Regions from separate parts of the Homo sapiens genome. Here region 1 is linked to region 2. Evidence: promoter capture Hi-C in 16 types of primary human blood cells and fetal thymus (Javierre and others, 2016). All regions are on one chromosome and are shown on one strand. Each heading gives the region's core, a stretch centred on a gene start or on the middle of the fragment in contact. The rest is flanking DNA. Distances are from core to core; before and after follow the strand shown. Region 1 overlaps IST1 (IST1 factor associated with ESCRT-III). Region 2 holds the start of ATXN1L (ataxin 1 like).

Region 1 (6,944 bases), core at 4,221-6,720, 72 kb after region 2:
CTACTTTCTGTTTCTCTGAATTTTAGATACCTCACAAAAGCAGAATCTTACAGTATTTGTTTTTCGTGACTGGCTTATTTCACTTACCATGATGTCCTCAAATTTCATCCATGTTGTAGCATGTGATGGGTAGGATTTCCTTTCCTTTCTAAGGCTGATTAGTACTCTGTTGTATGTGTAGACCACATTTTGTTTATCCATGAATCCCTCAGTGGCCATTTGGGTTGCCTCCACCTCTTGGCCATTGTGAATAATGCTGCTGGGAACATAGGTATGCAAATAGCTCTTTAAAGTTCTGCTTTCCGTTCTTTTGGATATATACCAGAAGTGGGATTTCTAGATTATGTGGTAGTTCCATTTTTAATTTTAATTTTTGAGGAACCGCCATACTGTCTTTCCATAATGGTTGTACCGTTTTGCAATCCCACCAACAGTGCACAAGGGTTCCATTTTCTCCACAGCCTCATCAGTACTTGAAATTTTCTTTTTTTTTTTGATAGTAGCCATCCTAATGGGTGTGAGGTGGTATCTCATTGTGATTTCATTTTGCCTTTCTCTAGATATTAATGATATTGGCACTTTTGATATGCTTATTGACCACTTGTATATCATTTTTGGAGAAATATCTTCAAGTATTTTGCCCAGTTTTTAATCAGGTTGTTGTTATTGAGTTACAGGAGTCATTTACATGCAATTAGCTCTTGGTTTTTGTTTGTTTGTTTTTGAGACAGAGTCTTGCTCTCTCACCTAGCCTGGAATACTGTGGTGTGATCTTGGCTCACCACAGCCTCTGCTTCTGGGACTCCAGCAATCCTCCCGGCTCAGCCTCCCGAGTAGCTGGGACCACAGGTGCATGCCACCACGCCCGGCTAATTTTTGTATTTTTTGTAAAGATGGGGTTTCTCCATGTTGCCTAGGCTCGTCTTGAACTCATGGGCTCAAGCAGTCCTCCCACCTTGGCCTCCCAAAGGACTGGGATTACAGACATAAGCCACCACACTCACACCCTACTATTTAGCTTTTTATTTTTGGATACGGAGTTTCACTCTTGTTGCCCAGGCTGGAGTGCAATGGTGTGATCTCAGCTCACTGCAAACTCCGCCTCCTGGGTTAAAGCAATTCTCCTGCCTCAGCCTCCGGAGTAGCTGGGATTACAGGCATGCGCCACCACGCCTGGCTAATTTTGTATTTTTAGTAGAGATGGGGTTTCTCCGTGTTGGTCAGGCTGATCTCGAACTCCCGACCTCAGGTGATCCACCCACCTAGGCCTCCCAAAGTGCTGGGATTACAGGCGTGAGCCACTGCGCCCGGCTGGTTTTTGTTGTTTGTTGTTTTTCCAGTAGAATACAGGTTCATTTGAGGACAGGGGTTGTACCTTTTTTTTTTTTTTTTGAGACAGAGTCTTGTTCCTCCAGGCGGGAGTGCACGATCTTGGCTCACTGCAACCTCCACCTCCCGGGTTCAAGCGATTCTCCTGTCTCAGTCTCCCGAGTAGCTGGGACTACAGGTGTGCGTCACCACGCCCAGCTAATTTTTTTTGTATTTTTAGTAGAGATGGGGTTTCACCATGTTGGCCAGGATGGTCTCCATCTCCTGACCTCATGATCTGCCCACCTCGGCCTCCCAAAGTGCTAGGATTACAGATGTGAGCCGCCGCACCCAGCAAGGAGTGTACCTTAATTTATGCTTTTTATCTCCATCAAGCCAATGTCTCACATACAGGTAATCAGTAAATACTTATTGCATGGATTGAACATAATTTAATTACTGGATTCCAGATACTTGATGACATAAATGCCCCATTTTAACCTGGGACTTAGGTTAATTCTTAAATGTAGGGTAAAGAAAGGCTTTTGGGGGCAATTTTACAAAAGGAAAACACATCTGATGTTTTTTATTAGTGGTTAATTCACTAGTAGACAAGTACTATTCCTACTGCTCTTTCTTTCTTTGGTGCTCTTTTGATTTGTCTGTTCTTCAGTTACTTTGTTTGACCTATCTTTTGTTTGGATATTACATGTTTTTAAGTTTGAGTCCAGAATTTAAATTTAGAGAAATAGAAATTGTGCTGTTTTGAAATAGAATGCACAGTGGTCAGTGCACAATGGTATACCCTAAAGTCTTGCGGGTAGAGGACGGGTGGTTTTGTTTACTGTAACTCTGCTATTCAGTGAAATTCCTGGTAAAGAGCCTTCTGTTGTAGAATTTTGTAGAGCAGTGTTTTCCTTGGACTTTTCACCCCTTTGTGTAACCCTGTATGTGAGTAGATGTCAATGATATTTCTGTACTCTTGGGTACTAGCTTTTCCCCAAAAACTGAGACTTGTTGGCAGGATTTGGGGAGTTAAGATGAAAATATTTTCAATTATGGGTCTAAATTTAATCATCTTCCCCCATTGCCATCCCTGTTGAGATTTTTTTGGGAGAAGCAGGGAGCCCTTCTGCTTCTTTATCTTTTTATCACACCACCCCCATGCCAATATCTAGGTATTAATTTCATCTGTCACCAAATTCTTTCAGCTGTGCCTTTAAAGTAGATTTCAAATCCAGTTGCTGACACTGCTAACCACCCTAGTCTGAGCTATTACCATCTCTTGTCTGGATGATAATAATAGCCTTCCCATTGGTCTTCCTGCTTCCAGTATTATCCTTCCCCAATCAGTTTTTTTTACAACAGCCAAAACAATCTGTAAAAAATGTGAATTAGATCATGTCATTTTCCTGTATTAGAAAAACACTCTGTTTTTGTTTCACATAATTCACCCCTAAGAGGTGTTAGTTCCTGAACTAATGTTGACTTGAAAATAGTCATTGTGCTTCTTCTGTTTCTAGGAGGAACAGCACAGCATGCTGGGCTCTGGATTTAAAGCTGAGCGCTTAAGAGTGAATTTGAGATTAGTCATAAATCGCCTTAAACTATTGGAGAAAAAGAAAAGTGAGTAGTGTACTTTTTTTCCCCAAAAATAAATCACTGGATACTAGCACCCCAGTAATGGGTCTTTCAGGCCAGTACTATGAAGTCTTAGGGATCATATTTTTTTTTGTTGTTTTTGTTGAGACAGGGTCTCACTCTGTCGCCCAGGATGGAGTGCAGTGGTGTGATCTCGGCTCACTGCAACCTCCATCTCGTGGGTTCAAGTGATTCTTGTGCCTCAGCCTCCCAAGTAGCTGGGATTACAGGTGTGTGCCACCACACCTGGCTAATTTTCATGTTTTTAGTAGAGACGGGATTTCACCACGTTGGCCAGGCTGGTCTTGCACTCATGACCTCAAAGTCATCTGCCTGCCTCAGCCTCCCAAAGTGCTGGGATTACAGGCGTGAGCTACCATGCCCGCCCTGGGATCATATCTTTTAAGCTTTGGATCCATTTCTGCCCTTTGTGACTTTTAGACTGAGTACCTTTTTTGCAGAGAAAGGGACATACTCTGTTGTTGTGGCATTAGGTCACCTGACTCTTGAGTTGGAAATGTCAAGCCACATGAGCTATATTTTCTCACCTAGACAGAGTAGCAAATTCTACAGTAGAGGGGATGGGATTAGATTTGCTAAAGGAGAGGAGCTAGGATATAGTAGAAACACCCAGTTCTTCCTGTTGGGGGGAGATTGGCCTGTAGGCCAGATGCAAGTGCTCTACTGCTGTGAGATCGGAGTGGGATTTGTGTCTTAGCGGAACTGGCCCAGAAAGCAAGGAAGGAGATTGCTGACTATCTGGCTGCTGGGAAAGATGAACGAGCTCGGATCCGTGTGGAGCACATTATCCGGGAAGACTACCTCGTGGAGGCCATGGAGATCCTGGAGCTGTACTGTGACCTGCTGCTGGCTCGGTTTGGCCTTATCCAGTCTATGAAGTAAGATATTTTGATTCAGAGACCTAAATCATTTCTGGAATTTGAGAAAGGAGTAATATGATCTCTTTCTGCATTAAGGGACTATTTCACATGCCCAAGGATCTGCTGCCTAACAGTTGCTGAAAGGCCTGTTAAAAAGAAAATACAGAATCTGAAACTGAGAAGCCTAAATTTGAATCTTGGCTCGACCATTTTCCGAGTTCATGGCCTTGAGCTTGTTGCCTAGTTTTGAGTTCCTCCAAAAGTAAAATAAGATCACGAAAATGGCTAGAAGCCTAGAGTTATTGTGAGAATCTAGTGAGATTCACAGAATGGCTTTGGAGGCTATAAAGTATATGAAACAAAAGCTAGGATTTTGTTGGTTTGTTTTAAAGAATGTTATATTAATTTTTTTCCTTGATTAGGGAACTAGATTCTGGTCTGGCTGAATCTGTGTCTACATTGATCTGGGCTGCTCCTCGACTCCAGTCAGAAGTGGCTGAGTTGAAAATAGTGAGTACAAGTAGTTTCAGTGATGTCTGTAGCTTTTCATATTGTTAGAAAGGTTGGTTAATATAAGTTACTTCTGCTGATTTGACCAGATATTTTGTACCATTCTTATGTTGCTTTTGAAATAGGTTTTGTAAATTTGTTTCTCCCTTTCAGCCTTATATCGTAGAATAGAACAGTGTTTTGCAAACTTGAGCAGTTTTTTTAAGGAGCAAAGTTTTGTGTATCTCCAGTTTTGTCTTAATGTTATTTAACTCTATGCAAATAGAAAAGTTCTTATACAACTGTAAACCAGTAAAGTTAAAATAACATTAAGGTGACAGATGTTTTTGCTTTATTTATTAATTCCACAAATATTTATTAAATAAATTGTATGAGCTATGTAAGTGCTGGGGGTAACAGTGGTGAACAAAATATGGCACCAGCCATACTCCTGTAGCTTAGAGTCTAGCAGAAGAGACAGACATTAACCAGAAAATTGCACATCACAACATGGATATGGTACTGACTCCTAGGATACAAATTCAGTTGTGTTGTTTTCTATTTTCTACATCTTTGCCTTTCTGTTTTATTTCCTAGGAGACTGTGTCATTCTTATCTCTCAACCCATCTACTGAGATTTCCTTCTTTTCTAGGTTTTTTTCAAGAGCTCTTTTTAATTCTCTGAATATTTTTTATGGTTTGTTTCATGGCTACAATTTTTTCTAAGTCTCTGAGGATATTAATTATGGTTTATTTTTAAACGTCTGTCATGTTTGTTTCTCTCAAGTTCATTTTTCCTATTTCTTAGTTTTATAGTAGAGGCTTTCCAAAGATTTAGTGGTCCTTGGCTGTCGGTTTACATTTAAGAGTGAGGCACTAAAAAGGAGATTGGAACCTCTCGTGTGCATGGGTGGGTTTTTACTGCCAGATGCCTTCATTGCTGAGTGATCTGGTTAAGCTCTTATTTGGAGGAATTCCAGACTGTGAGGAACTAGTCATCTTTCCTTGGGTTGGTCGTTTTCTCCAGAATCCTCCTATCTTCTGTCGAGTGTATAAGCTGGCTGCCAGCATTTCTGAGAGCCCAGTGGAGAAGGAAGCCAAAAATCTATTTGATACATAGAAGACTTACACTTAATTCTTCTGTTGTAAGTATCACTGTTGTCTCCTGTGTGTAGACTCGAGTCGCTTTAGTTAACTCCCCCCAGAGAATAAACTTCCAATAGTCCAATAGGGTACCAGGGATAGTAATTGAGTTTTGTGGGCAGAGAAGAGGGACAGTAGAGGCAACTGATTCTTATGTAGGCTTTTTTTTTTTTTTTTTGAGATGGAGTCTTGCAGTGTTGCCTGGGCTGGAGTGCAGTGGTACAATTTTGGCTCACTGCAACCTCTGCCTCCTGGGTTGAAGCGATTCTTTTGCCTCATCGTCCTTAGTAGCTGGGATTACAGGTGCCCGCCACCATGCCCAGCTAATTTTTTGTATTTTTGGTAGAGACGGGATTTCATCATGTTGACCAGGCTGGTCTCGAACTCCTGACCTCGTGATCCGCCTGCCTCGGCCTCCCAAAGTGTTGGGATTACAGGCGTGAGCCACCATGTTGAGCCGTTTTTGGTCTCTTCTGTACTCCTTTAAAATTAATTTTGGAAAAGGCTTAAATATGTTACAAAACTCAAAAGCCATAAACAGAGTGATAAATTAATGTGAATAAAAAAATCTCTGTGTAGTATAAACCAGCCAAAACAAAAACCATAAAAGACAAATGCCATTTATATCATAGGTGTCAGGTACCCCTGAAAGTCTTCATAATGAACAGTGAGAACTCTCCTACTGGGCTTCTGGAATGTTGGGACCACTCTGGTCCAATGCTACTGTCGTTTCCTGTCTGGAAATGAGAGTAGCTTCTTGAATATTCTTCCTATTCCTACTTTGGCTTCTTTTAATCTATTCACACCATTCCATCAGAACCACCTGAGGGTTTTGTCCAAAACACAGCTCCGATCCTGTCACGACCTCTTGCTTTAAAGCCCATTAGTAGCTTTCTGTTGCTCTTGTGATAGAAACAAAACTCCCTGATACAGCCTACATGGTCCTGCATTGTCTGGCTCCCACTTCCCTTTTTCATTTCTTACCACACTCCTTGGCCTCTGCACTAGAGGCTCACTGGCTGATTGCAGGCTTGAGAACTGACCATGTTTGTTTCTGCCAGAGGCCTTTGCACTGCTGTTTTCTTTTCCTGGAATGTGCTTCCTTCCCTATTTAGTTAACTCCTAGTCATCCTTTAATTTATTATTTGAGACGGTCTTGATCTGTCACCCAGGCTGGAGTGCAGTGGCACGATCTTGCCTCACTGCAGCCTCGGCTTCCTGGGCTCAACTGATCATCCTCCCACCTCAGCCCCCTGAGTAGCTGAGACAAGAGGTGCGTGCCACCATGCCCAGCTAATTTTTGTATCTTTTAAAAATAGAGACTAGGGTTTTGCTGCGTTGCCCAGGCTGGTCTTGAACACCTGAACTCAAGTGATCAGCCTGCCTCAGCCTCACAAAGTGTTGGGATTACAGGCATGAGCCACGATGCCTGGCCTTAGTCATCCTTTAAATCTCAGCAAAGCATCACTTCCCTCAGGAAGC
Region 2 (6,714 bases), core at 1,743-4,242:
TACAGATGGGGTTTCACCAAGCTGGCCAGGCTAGTCTTGAACTCCTGACCTCAGGTGATTCACCTGCTTTGGCCTCCCAAAGTGCTGGGATTACAGGCGTGAGCCACCACACCCGGCCTGGTTTACTGAATATAAATAGCTTAAATAGGGGTGTTACCCAGATTCCAGAAAAATAATACAGATATTTGGATAAATTAGGTAACTTTTGGTTATTTTTGTGCCATAAATCTAAAAACTTTATTAGTTTACTTATCACTAATATACCTGTCAAACTGTTGCTATGGAGCTTTCTACCATCAGGATATACAACCAAAGAAAAAAAGATTACTCAGAGTAGTAAAGAGTTTGGGAATGGGATACAGCGGACATATGACCCACCCTTTTGGGACTGCAGTGCCAAACCCGGAAATCACCTGTGTTTCACCAATCAGAACATCCTGTTTTTACTTTTTAATGGACATGCTTTTGTATCATGTACATCATTATGTTAATGGTTGGTAGCCATAAAACTTTTTTTTTGCTTACATCTACCTGTGTCTACTCTTTCAAATTTGTACAGAAAACCCAGCTCTGAGTGTATATCTTGATCTGGGAGAAACTAGCTATCCTTGAATATGCTTGGATAGTCCAAGGGTTCCTATCTTGACTATTTTAATGCCAGTTTAGTGAGCTAAGAAATGAACTAGAAACCAGAATGCTAGTTAGTGCTAAAACGGACACACTGAGTGACCACAGGACTTCCTTCTTGGCCAAACTGAGAGAGAAGGAGACTGTCATGAACAATATTAATATTAATGAAGCAAAACACTCAGATGATTTAGATGACAGCAGTAACTTCACTATGTTTTTTCCCATTTGTGCTGTGTGTATGTGTGCGTGTGTGTGTGTGTCTGTGTGTGTGTCTGTGTGGTACTTGATAATTTTTTATGGCCCTATGTGTCCATCCAGGTGAGAAAATATAATTGAGATCTAAGGCTTCCCTAGAAAGAATCTTAGAGATCATGCATTGTATCTGGATCTCAACTTACTTTTTTTATTTCTAAGATAATATTCTCCTAAATATTCAAACAATAATATAAGTTGTTTCTTTGCCTTTTGACCACCACCCAATTCCACTTTCCTTCCCAAAAATAACCAATGTTAATTAGTTATGTGTTCTACTCCTTTTCTGTACAGATACACAGAAATACATACAACCGACGCTGGGTGTGGTTGGCTCATGACTGAAATGTCAGCACTTTGGGAGGCCGAGGAGGGAAGATCACTTGAGCACAGGAGTCTAAGACCAGCCTGGGCAACATAGCAAGACCTTGTCTCTGCAAGAAATTTTAAAAAATTAGCTGGGCATGGTAGTGCATGCCTATCATCGCACCTACCCCAGAGGCTGAGGTGGGAGGACTGCTTGAGCACAGGAATTTGAGGCTGCAGTGAGCTAAGATGGCACCACTGCACTCTAACCTGGGCGACAGGGCTAAAAAAAAAAAAAAATTATATGTACACACACACACACACATACACGCAACTGCAATGACATATCTTTTTTTTTCTTTTTTTTTTTTTAAGACGGAGTCTCACTCTATTGCCCAGGCTGGAGTGCAGTGGCACGATCTCGGCTCACTGCAAGCTCTGCCTCCCGGGTTCATGCCATTCTCCTGCTTCAGCCTCCCGAGTAGCTGGGAGTACAGGTGCCCGCCACCATGCCCGGCTAATTTTCTGTATTTTTAGTAGAGACGGGGTTTCGCCGTGTTAGCCAGGATGGTCTGCGATCTCCTGACCTCGTGATCCGCCGGCCTTGGCCTCCCAAAGTGCTGGGATTGCAGGCGTGAGCCACCGCGCCTGGCCCAATTGTTATTTATTGAACAGAGTTTGAAGAAACTGAAAGTCTCCATTTCGGTGGCCAAAACCGCAATTACTTTTGCACCAACCTAATACTTTAAAACAAACAACAACAAAAACACAGTTGTTATTCAAACATAAATTCAACTGGCGCTCACTTTTGTCTTCACTTAAGTTAATCAGATGTTCATGTTACTATGAAGTTGACCAGTTAATTTGTAATGAATAATTAGTTAATTTGTAATGAATAATATTTCACTGAGTAGTCAAGCCCTCTTTCCACTAAACCAAGCTGCTTCTCACTGTACTAAACCCCGGGCTCTCTCTAAACTTTCAGGTGTTCCACTCCTTGTCACCTTCCCCTAGATCCTGAGTGGGGTTCACTCTTAGCTCCCTCGGGGGCCACTTCTCAACACTTACAGAGCTCCTATTGACCTGGCACGGTGGCTCACGCCTGTAATCCCAGCACTTTGGCAGGCCGAGGTGTGGGGATCACCTGAGGTCGGGAGTTCGAGACCAGCCTGACCAGCAAGGAGAAACCCTGTCTCTACTAAAAATACAAAAAATTAGCCAGGTGTGGTGGCGCATGCCTGTAATCCCAGCTACTCGGGAGGCTGAGATAGGAGAATTGCTTGAACCTGGCAGGCGGAGGTTGGGTGAGCCGAGATCGTGCCATTGCACTCTAGCCTGGGCAACAAGAGCGAAACTGTCTCCAAAAAAAAGAAAGAAAAGAAAAAAAGAAGACTTCCTATCTCCACCTGGGTCCCCAAGAGGTAAGAGGTATCTCCTTTTCTCCTGAGCCTAGGTCACCTCGGGGTCCCCCGAAGTTCCCCAGAAGGGGCTGCACAAGTCAGGACAAGAAGTCCAGGAAATGGGGGGTCGCCGATGACCACGCCCCGGGGCTCTGTTTGGGAACCCCCAAAATTTACTGAGGTGGAAAGATTGCGGGGTCATTGTGGGGTCAGGCTGAGGGGGCCGGGCCCAGCCCTATTCACGTGACCCGGTCCCAGGGAGAGGAGTTTGTTCACCCACCAGAGGGAACGCCCGACGCGAAGGCAGTGTGGCACCCTCCCTTCCCGGGGAGTCCTGGGCGTTGCTCTCCCACCCCGGCCGTGACGCAATCTCTCCGCGCCGGGGGCGGGACGAGCTTGACGCCATCTCCGGGCGCCCGGCTGTGGGGGGCGCTGGGTGTGGGGCGGCTCCGGGGCCGGGGATGGCGGCGGCCGCGGTTGCGGCGGCTCCGGGACGAGTGAGTGGATCCTGGGAAGCGCTGTGAAATGGGCTGGTGAGTGTCCCTGGAAGTGGTGGCCGCCGGGGCCAGGCAGGCCTGGGGTCGGTGCTCCGGAGGAAGTGGCCCTCAGGAGCCCGTTGCTCCGGCGGGCCGGGGCCCATGAACCGTGGACAGACGGAGGGGAGAGGCCGCACCTAGACCCCCTCGCGCTTCTCTCTGGCCTGTCCTGGAAGGTGGCCTCAGGCCCCGGCGCCCCGGAGGCTGTGTGCCTGCGAGCCAAGGTGTCCGAGTCTGTGGGGCGGGAAGGGCCCCCAAACAAGGAAGCGTCGCCTGCAGGGCCTCGCCCCTGCCCCCTTGGTGAAGGGTGGACCCCCTACTCTCTAAACGCAGAATTCCCAATTTCGAGCCCTACCCTTGTTGGATCAAGGATTGCGGGACCACTGGGAGCCATAACCGTAGTCTCTGACAAGCTTCTCCCTTTCTGTCGGGCGCACCTCTCGCCCGCAGAGAATTTGGGTCTCCAGCTGGGTTCAGCCCCTTGATTCCGACCCAAGCGTGATGAGGAGCTTGGTTCCGGGCTCTGCTAGCAGCGTTGGCAACTCTCCTGAACAGCCTGTTAGCTCGGTTGGGGTCACAAGCTGCGTTTTCCCTTTGAGATGCTCAGTGAGGTTCTCGAGAGGCGGAGGTTTCGGATTCTTAAGTGTGTTTTGCGTTGTGGGAACCTGGCGCACAGGCTTGGCTCTTTGTTTTCCTTTCTGCAGACCTTTTGCCTCTTTCGGTCCCTTTACTAGCCTGTGTTTGCTAACTTCTCGGTGACCTGGAGGCAGGTTTTCTTTAAAGTTTTCGTTACAGAAAGCAAGGATCATTTTGGGATTGAAGTGTGACCCCAGTTTCTGTTGGGAATGAAGAAGAAAGCAAGCTGCTTTTCAGTTATTAAAGCTGCTGGTGGAGAAAAGAGTCATTATTTATGCCACTGTGTAATAATATGTGTTTGTGGAATTAGGAATTTGTTTTCCCACTGTGTTTTCCTATCCTTCCACCTTTTGTGTACACCTGCACCTTGCCAATCTTAAGAGAGAAATGTTGCATTCGGTTTGGGTTGAGGCTTAGAGTGTTCTATAGGACTTGGACAGGATAGTCAGTTTCTCAGAGCACTCACTCATCTGTACTGCCTTCTCTGTTTTCAGAGGTTAAGGCTCCATTCTTTCTCGCTTTGCGTTTCTGGCAAGTGTAGATTCACATAGTGATGGTTTAGTGGTAGTTTTGTTTCACCAGTGTTAGCCAGCTGAGGACCAAGGCAATATTTTCAGTTTCTTTCATACCTGATTCAGCACTTGGTATACTGTCACTCAGAAAATTTTACATACACACACACATATGCTCATTTTTTTTTAACCCTGAAAATCTCTTAATAAGTCTTCTCCTTGAGTGACTCCCCCCTGACCTCTTTTTCTGCCCCAGAAACATAAATAATTGTTCTTTTTCATCTACTGCTGCTTTTTTTCATTTAAATAACTCCACATTTATGTTTTCATAGGCCCAGAATAAAGGGGAAATCCATAGAGTTGATTTTTCCTGCTTCCCATTGTTCATATGGGAACAGTGTTAAAGCTTCCATTTTTATTTGTGCGTTTATCTGAAATTTGGATTGGAGCAAATTTAACCTTTGGGGAACAGGCACAGGTAGATGTTAGGGAAATGATGTTACGGAAAACCAATGAAATTTGATACATGGAAATTTTTTTTCAGGGATGTCTTCTTACAAGTTGGAGCATTAGAGGTGTTTTTCTCTCTGTTCAACTGCCTGGGCACTCTGGGTAAATGTACTGTTTACCTGTGGAGAAGAAGATGAGGCAAGGACGTGTATACTCTAATGCTTTGGAATTACCTTTCATGGTGACCCTGGGGAGAATTAGAGGTCAGGCAGCCGCTTACTCCATTCCTGTTTCTATCTTCTAGGCTCCCGAGCCAGCCGGGAGGACACTTACTACAGCTGCTCAGAAGCACCACTGGAAACTCAGGTAATACCGGCACTTTGAATTCCTTGTTTCAGGAAAATATCTGGGATGTCACAGTGGAAAAACAGAACAGAATGTAATATAGAAAGCTCTTTTCAGATCCAAAGAACTGGAACCTGGTTGGAAGAAATAGGCAGCAAAGTTCATGTGCACTGAAGTGTTCAGACCAAAAAGTTGCTTTATAACAATGGACAAAAGCATTTGTGAAAGGTGACAATAAGAGAAAAGGGAAAGAGAACTTTCTTATGAATCATACAGATACGGGGAAAAAAACAGGCATGTTTAGAGGAATGGAACCAGAATTTCATGGAGTGGTGCCTGGAGCAGACCTACAGTGGAGAAGGAGCTATTGGTAAAAGAAAGCACAAAGAAAAAAGAAAGGGAATGAATAGAGAAGGCAAATTGAAGGTGATCATTGAGAAGAAGCCTTTTGAGACTAGGGAACCGGAAGTGTACGTAAGGTCAGAAGAATTTAGAATTTTGTTGTTCTTTGGTGAAGAGGAGAAACAAGTTGACAGCAAACTAGTTTAATCACTTTCACTATATAGAGGCTGAGTTAAAATGTATTATTTCATGGGTCAAAGATGTTAATTTTCATAACCTGGTTAGGGAGCAAAGTCTTAAAAAAAAAAACAAAACACGAGCAGACCTGAGGGTTTTGGCACCTAGGTCCTTGAGGTACTGATGAGATGAGGCAAAGGAGGAAGAGAGTTTTTAGCCAGGCTTGGGATAGCAGTAGGTGAGATCATAACCCAAATTAGGCTACAGAAAGGAAGCAAGGATGAGGTCATATGTTCAGGAAAGAAGGTGGCACATTCATGTTTGGTAGCAAAAGGAGAAACTTAAGAAAAAGAGCCAGCAGGAGGCTGGGCGCTGTGGCTCACACCCGTAATCCCAGCACTTTGGGAGGCTGAGGTGGGCGGATCACCCAAGGGCAGGCGTTCGAGACTAGCCTGGCCAACATGGTGAAACCCCATCTCTACTAAAAATACAAAGTTAGCCAGGCGTGGTGGTGCATGCCTGTAGTCCCAGCTGCTTGGGAGGCTGAGGCAGGAGAATTGCTTGAACCCGGGAGGCGAGGTTGCGGTGAGCTGAGATTGCACCATGTACTGTGGCCAGGGCAACAAGAGCAAAACTCCATGTGTTTTAAAAAAAAAAAAAAAAAAAAAAAAAAGCAAAAGAGCCAGCAGGAAAGACCATGTGTTCAAAGCCCCCTTTGGGAAGAAGGCAGAAAAGAGACAAGGTGCTTATGAGACACATGACTAACCGTGAAGCTGTTGGTCTCCCTGGGCTTGTGGAGCCCACAGGTTATTTGTGCATTGGTGAATGCGTGTCCCTGTAGCTCTTTGTGCCTTGTGATTTCCCCGACTGTTTCTCTCATGTCCCAGGCTGGATGAGTTGGGGGTAGCCTCCTTGTCTGCCCCTTTCTCTTTCCTCCTTATTTTCTAACAGTCCCCTTTGTTACATCTTCCTCCATGGCACAGTTCTTTCTATTTCCTTTGTCTTGGCTCATCCCTAGGTTACTTTTCTTTGCCTCTGATTTGTTCCCTAATAGATGTGGGCGCCCCAGCCAGAAGCAGAGAGGGGTACAGGGAAGCTACAGAGAAGCCCCTTCTGATGCCCCAGGGA

The links. Contacts are between HindIII fragments. The CHiCAGO score rates a contact against its expected background, and 5 or more counts as called.
Region 1: a fragment that was not itself captured here is called in contact with the fragment with the promoter of ATXN1L in region 2 in 3 of 17 cell types (total CD4 T cells, activated CD4 T cells and total CD8 T cells); the score reaches 6.1 in total CD4 T cells.

Annotation. Positions count from the first base shown.
Region 1 is chr16:71,912,795-71,919,738 of GRCh38, forward strand. IST1 (IST1 factor associated with ESCRT-III) reads left to right here. Exons shown (of 10, transcript NM_001270975.2): 2 at 2,832-2,934; 3 at 3,668-3,848; 4 at 4,253-4,340. The coding sequence starts at 2,847. Among named protein-coding and RNA genes, the nearest start is that of IST1, 21 kb to the left of the region's middle. RefSeq lists an enhancer at 6,539-6,718. The HindIII fragment of the contact is 4,233 bases long and covers 3,355-6,944 here.
Region 2 is chr16:71,842,984-71,849,697 of GRCh38, forward strand. It overlaps ATXN1L (ataxin 1 like), which reads left to right and starts at 2,993. Exons shown (of 3, transcript NM_001137675.4): 1 at 2,993-3,121; 2 at 5,027-5,088; 3 at 6,641-6,714. RefSeq lists enhancers at 2,065-2,837, 2,571-2,620, 2,838-3,609, 3,411-3,480 and a silencer at 2,881-3,190. The HindIII fragment of the contact is 5,556 bases long and covers 1-3,535 here.